2 separate regions of the Homo sapiens genome follow, and region 2 is linked to region 1. Evidence: promoter capture Hi-C in 16 types of primary human blood cells and fetal thymus (Javierre and others, 2016). All regions are on one chromosome and are shown on one strand. Each heading gives the region's core, a stretch centred on a gene start or on the middle of the fragment in contact. The rest is flanking DNA. Distances are from core to core; before and after follow the strand shown.

Region 1 (3,309 bases), core at 490-2,989:
AAAAATTATTGTGTAAAATGTACATAGCACAAAATTTACCATTTTAACCTTAAAAATTTTTTTTTAGAGACGGTGTCTCACAATGTTGCCCGAGTGGTCTCAAACTTCTAGCCTCAAATAAAAAAAAAAAAGAAAGAAAAAAGAAAAAGAAGAAAAAGTGCCAGCCCAGTGGCTCAGACCTGTAATCCCAGTCTTTGGGGAGGCCGAGGCGGGAGAATCGCTTGAGCCCAGGAGCTCGAGACCCGCCTGGCCAACATAGGGAGACTCCAGTGTCTACAAAAAATAAAAACAATTAGCGAGAGTGTGGTGGCACACATCTGTGGTTCCAGCTACTTGAGAGGTGGAGGTGGGAGGATTGCTTGAGCCTGGGAGGTCAAGGCAGCAGTGATCCCTGATCGCACCACTGCACTCCGGCCTGGGTGACAGATCCTCATTTTGAGACCCTGTCTCAAAAATGAAAGAAAGAAAGAAGACAAAACAAATAAAAACTCCTGGCCTCAAGCAACACCATCCCTGCCCCCCGCCTCCCCCTGCCCCCCCAACCTCAGCCTTCTGAGTAGCTAGCATTACAAGTACCAGTTACCAGGCCTGGCAATTTTAAACATTTCTAAGTGTACCATTCAGTGGCATTAAGTACAATAACGTTGCACCACCAGGAATGAATTTTTAAGTCTCTTTCCAAAGATACCTGGCTAATCACACATTTGATAGTGGGGAAATAAGAAACATTTGTTGGTTGAAAGACGGATGCATGAGAGTAAAAGCAGTGTTCTTCCCCAGTGTGGGCAGTTTCCGCATAAGCATCTGCGATCCGTTTTGCATGTGAATGAAAGCCCAGTGACGGGCAGTGGGCACCAGTGCTGCTCCTTGCGTGTTTGAATCATGCTTGCTAAGTTTCAAGCAAGGAATGCTCCATTTCTCCCAACCAAGTCGGGCCTTTTGTATTCAAATCAAAAGCACAAAACTCTATTGTAGGGGGAAAAATGAGTCTTTATTGGCAATCAGTGGTGTCCACTTAGAGCAATAAATATTAAGTCTTAAGAGTACATTCTATATGAAGTACTATAGCTATTAATACACTTGGGTTTTGTTTGTTTTTTAAATGGGTGTCTTTGTGGGGTGCTGTTCTAATCAGTGCCACAGGCGCCGAGGAGAGGGAGGGAGCTGGGTAAGGAAGGAGACAGGCCCACCCTAGCCACCGGGGAGTGGGCAGAGTCAGGAGAGCGGGGTTCTGATTTTGCCCCTTCCCTGTGAATCCTTGGGCACCTCACCGAAACACTTAAGGCCTCTGTATGGTAGAGGTTGGAATCCGTGGCCTTTAAAAGTCCTTTCAGCTCCTTCGCTCCTATCTGCATAATTTTTGGCATAGGCCAAGCGGCTGGTTGGTGGGGTGTTTAGCTCAGGACGAGAGGCCGAACGAGCGGGGAGTTGGCTGAGGATAGACTAGACACGCGTGGGTGACTCCAGCGTGATGGAACGCGGGGTGTCCCGGGATAGGGCTAAAGCGATGGGATTTCCAGACGAGTCTTTCCCAGGCCAACTTTTAAAGGTCGGAGGAAAGTTTCTCGTGGGGTGGGGGCCCAGAGGGGATGGCAGGGTGGGCTCCGACGCCTCCTCGCCTTTAAGCGGGTGGCCCCGGCTCTTCCTCCGTTACCTGGAGCGGGGAGGGGCTTGGGAAAGTTTGTGTTTGTTGCTGGCAAAGCGCCGGATGGGAGGCGCGGGCGGGCGCTGCGGTTCTTCCCTTCTGCTTTCGGGAAGCGGTCGGGGCTGCACACTCGGATCGGCGGGGCCGGCTCCCGGGCCCGGCCGGCTGGAGGAGGGAGGGAAGGAGGCGGGAGGGAGCGAGCGGAGCCAGGGGCGCACGTACGCCCCAGCGCTGGGATTTATCGGCTCGCGAGGAGAGCGGAGCAGGCGCGCGGCCCAGGCGGAGGAGCGCCGACTCTGGAGCAGCCGGAGCTGGAAGAGGAGGAGGAGGAGAGGCGGCGGGGAAGGAGGAGGAGGGGGAGAGTCGCTCCCGCCGGGCGAGCATGGGGCGCCTGGCCTCGAGGCCGCTGCTGCTGGCGCTCCTGTCGTTGGGTGAGTGTGCGCGGGGCTCAGCGGGGCACACGGGGACTGGCGAGGCCCTGGAGGGCTCGGCGGGGCGCGGCTGCAGCGCGCGGCCTGGGGCGCCGAGGGTGCCCGGGCTGCTCCCGGGAAACCCGGCCGGGGTGCGCGGGTTGTTCGGCCCGGCGGGGAGCGGCCGCGGGGCCGCCCGGAGCCTGGCGCGAATCCGCTCGGGCCCCGCGCGCGGGGTGCAAGTGGCCGCTCCGCCAGGCCGAGCCTCGCCCCCAACATGTGCCGGGGGGAGTGGCCCGGGGCCGTCTTTCCCCCAGGTCTCCCTACCTGTTGGCCGCCGGGAGCCCGGCTCACCTTGAACTCCCGGCCCGGAAGGTGCTGCGGTCCCGGCCCGGGTCCTCGGCTCGAGAGCGGAAATGTGAGCCTTTGATATGCCCCGCCATAGCCGCCGCCGGCCGGGTCGCTCTTCACCCAACCCGCGCGGAGTTGCCTTTCCAGGGAAGCGAGAGAATCCTCCAACTTCCTTCCACGAAGGTCACAGGGTGGCCCGGAGCGTTACAATGGAAATCGGCGGGCGAGTCCTGCCGTCATTTTCGTCGTGGCTAGATCTTCTGCCTCAGTCTTTTCTTTTAGCTTTTCTTGAAGCTGCCTAGCTGCGTATTTATACACAAAGACCTAAAAGCCTGGCTTCTCCAACTTTTTCTACCTGTTACTTTCCCTCCCTTACTATCCCCTCGTCTTCCACCCTCCGGAAACCCTGGGTGCCCCGTGAGGTTTTGGCCCAGCGCCCTCCCCCCACCCAAGGAATCTTTTGTGGGTTTTTTCCCTCTCCATTTTCCATTCACTCCATACACAGACACCATCTTCACGTAGATCCACATGGTGATCCTAGCCAGCCACGGAAATATGTTTATTAAGTGCCCACCATGGTACCCCAGGGCCGACTCTTAAATGTTTTGATATTCTTGGATCCTTGTTGTCAGTGTCAACCAGGACAAGATGATTCCTGTGACCTGGCCTGGGGTTCTCTTCCAAGCCCCTAGAGAAGGCGGCTCTGAGTCTTTCACAGAGCGCATGATGTGCGGTGTCCGTGCCATTCAGGTCCCAGCTGCACACAGGGCAAATGATTACTCTGCACTTATGGTCAGAGGGTTCCAGAGGAGGCCTTCTATAGCTACTCCCCTGCTGGGGACACCGGGGCCCACACTGCTGTAACCCCCATGACTCCTGCTGCTGATGAACCAGCCTTGCTGG
Region 2 (3,389 bases), core at 624-3,123, 140 kb after region 1:
TAAATAAGCATTGTTATTATTATTTTGGTACATCCTCTTTGTTATTGTTTTCTATGTGACTGCTTTCAATATCTTTATTGGATTTTAAAAATCGTAACAGAGCAATACATGCTAGTTGTAGAAAATAAAAACTGCACCAATCTCCCAACCCAACCTCCCAGAGGTATATAAATGGAATCATACAGCATATAGTCTTGAAAGTTAATAGTTTTGATGCCAGGTGTGATGGTGTACACATGATCCCAGCCCTTTGGGAGGCCAACGCGGCAGACTGCTTGAGCTCAGGAGTTTGAGACCAGCCTGGGCAACATGGTGAAACCCTGTCTCTACAAAAAATACAAAAATTAGCCAGCTGTGGTGGTGTGCTCTGGTAGTCCCAGTTACTCGGGAGGCTGGAATGGGAAGATCACTGGAGCCTGGGAGAACAAGGCTGCAGTGAGCTGAGACTGCACCACTTCCAGCCTGAGGGGCTGAGTGAGACCCTGTCTCCAAAAAAAAAAAAAAAAACAAATTGACATGACTATACTCATAGTACATAGTACATTGTATAATGTTTGTTACTTAACATTATACAAATGATTACTATGTCTTTTTATGTCTTTGTATTAATAACAATTAATGTCATTTTAACTTAGGTTTAAGTTCCATACAAACGTTAAAGGAAAAAGACTTTCAAGACCATTTAAAAAGAGGAAGATGATGGCTAAAAAGCACACGAAAAAGAGTGCCACATCAATAGAAAAATCAAAATTCAAACAAAAGTCAGATACCACTTCATACCTACTAAAAAAGGCACGCAATAACAAGCATTGTTGAGGACATGAAGAACTGGGAACCCTCATACGTTGCTGGTGGAAATATAAAATGGTATAGCCACTTTGGAAAGTGGTTTGGCAATTTCTTAAAAAGTTAAACAAACTAACCATATGAACTAGCAATTCCACTCACAGGTTTATCTGCCCAAGAGAAATGAGAACAAATGTTCATATAAAGACTTTAACGTTAGGCCGGGTGCGGTGGCTCATGCCTGTAATCCCAGTACTTAGGGAGGCTGAGGCAGATAGATTACCTGAGGTCAGGAGTTTGAGACCAGCTTGGCCAACATGGTGAAACCCTGTCCCTACTAAAAATATAAAAATTAGCTTACGTGGTGGCTCGAGCCTATAATCCCAGCTACTCGGGAGGCTGAGGCAGGAGAATTGCTTGAACCTGGGAGCTGGAGGTTGCAGTGAGCCAAGATCATGCCACTGCACTCCAGCTTGGGTGACAGAGCAAGACTCCATCTCAAAAACAACAACAACAAAAAACAAAAAAACAAAAACAAAAACAATAAAACAGACTTTAACATTAATGTTCATAGCAATATTATTCCTAATAATTCCAAAGGGAAAATGATCCAAATGTCCACCAACTGGTGAATGAACACAATGGAATATTACTCAGCAATAAAAAGGAGTGAAATACTGATACATGTGCAACATGGGTAAACCTCACAAGCATTATGTAAGTGAAAGAAGACAGAGGCAAGAGACTACATATTACATGACTCCATTATATGAAATGTCCAGAAAAGGCAAACTTATAAAGACAGAAAGCATATCAGAGGTTGCCTTGGGACTAGCTGGGGGTGGCAGTTGGGATTGACTGCACACAGCTTTGAGGAAAGTTTTTGAGTGATAGAAATGTTTTAAAACTGGATTCTGGTGGTGATGGCACAACTTTATAAATTTACTTAAACAATGAATTGTGGGCCAGGTGTGATGGCTCATGCCTGTAATCCCAGCACTTTGGGAGGCCGAGGCGGGTGGATCACCTGAGTTCAGGAGTTCGAGACCAGCCTGGCCAACAGGGTGAAACCCCATCTCTACTAAAAATACAAAAATTGGCCAGGCGTGGTGGCGGGCACCTGTAATCCCAGCTACTCGGGAGGCTGAGGCAGGAGAGTCACTTGAACCCAGGAGGCAGAGGTTACAGTGAGCCAAGATCATGCCACTGTACTCCAGCCTGGCAACAGAGTGAGACTCTGTCTCAAAAAAAAAAAAAAAAGAATTGTGGCCGGGCGCGATGGCTCAAGCCTGTAATCCCAGCACTTTGGGGGGTCGAGGCGAGTGGATCACCTGAGTTCAGGAGTTCAAGACCAGCCTGGACAACATGGTGAAACCCCATCTCTACTAAAAATACAAAAATTAGCTGAGCGTGGTGGCACAAGCCTATAATCCCAGCTACTCAGGAGGCTGAGGCAGGAGAATCACTTGAACCCAGGAGGCGGAGGTTGCAGTGAGCCAAGATCCTACCATTGCACTCCACTCCAGCCTGGGTAACAGACAAGACTCCAACTGAAAAAAATACCTGTACATTTACCAAAAAAAAAAAAAAAAAAAAAGAAGAAGATAAAGAGCCTGCATTGAACCACTTTTGGAATAATATTTTAAGAACAGTGAAATTTGGAATCTAGTACTGAAAAAATATTGGTATAACAAAATAATTTGTAAAGTCTCTTGGCTTTACAAATTATAACCACATTTGTTCTCACTATAGTATCATCCTGATCGAGCCTATGTCAAAGGACAAGTTGAAAACAGTCATATGTTTGAAAGGCACAAAATGAAATGAAATGAAATTGAATTACCATTATATATCTTCAAACAAAAAGAATGAAACAGAGGAGGGTGGGCCTCAGTTTGGTTTTTATGTTACTAGGCTGCTACCTAGTGGTCATTTATAAAATGGCAGGACTTGGGTTTTTGGTTTTTGTCTTGGATTTGTTGAGCCATGTCTCTACACCACAGCAAATACCTAAACACTTACCGATGTGTGGGTTAAATATCTGAATGCATTGCTGAATAATTTATGCTTTATAAAAATACTATAGGCTGGGCGCAGTGGCTCAGGCCTGTAATCCCAGCACTTTGGGAGGCCGAGGCAGGTGGATCACCTGAGGTCTCAGGAGTTCGAGACCAGCCTGGCCAACATGGCGAAACCCCATCTCTACTAAAAATACACAAAATTGCTGGGCGTGGTGGTGGGTGCCTGTAATCCCAGCTACTTGGGAGGCTGAGGCAGGAGAATTGCTTAAACCTGGGAAGTGGAGGTTGCAGTGAGCCGAGATCACGCCACTGCACTCCAGCCTGGGCGACAGAGCGAGACTCCGTCTCAAAAAAAAAAAGAAGAAGAAGAAGAAGAAAAAATACTATAGTGGCAAGAACTGGATTGAAAGTTCTGAAAAATGGCCTTTAGTCCCTGATTGGCTGCTGTCAGCTTTGTGACTTTGAGCCAGGTCAAAATTAATCCATGGGGACTATCCGGTTCCAAAGTTTTAGGAGCAGCTCTGTAAGGTAAGTTGGCCTTGGGGCCACCTCCTTAACTGCTCTAAACTTTAGTATCTTCAT

Evidence for each region. Contacts are between HindIII fragments. The CHiCAGO score rates a contact against its expected background, and 5 or more counts as called.
Region 2: a contact is called between a fragment that was not itself captured here and the fragment with the promoter of PTGFRN in region 1, in 11 of 17 cell types (M2 macrophages, naive CD4 T cells, non-activated CD4 T cells and 8 more). The highest score is 12.8, in M2 macrophages.

What each region holds. Positions count from the first base shown.
Region 1 is chr1:116,908,177-116,911,485 of GRCh38, forward strand. PTGFRN (prostaglandin F2 receptor inhibitor) reads left to right here and starts at 1,740. Exons shown (of 9, transcript NM_020440.4): 1 at 1,740-2,076. The coding sequence starts at 2,028. The HindIII fragment of the contact is 4,060 bases long and covers 1-3,309 here.
Region 2 is chr1:117,052,822-117,056,210 of GRCh38, forward strand. The region is part of intron 1 of CD101-AS1 (CD101 antisense RNA 1); the gene reads right to left. Among named protein-coding and RNA genes, the nearest start is that of CD101-AS1, 5.0 kb to the right of the region's middle. The HindIII fragment of the contact is 6,290 bases long and covers 1-3,389 here.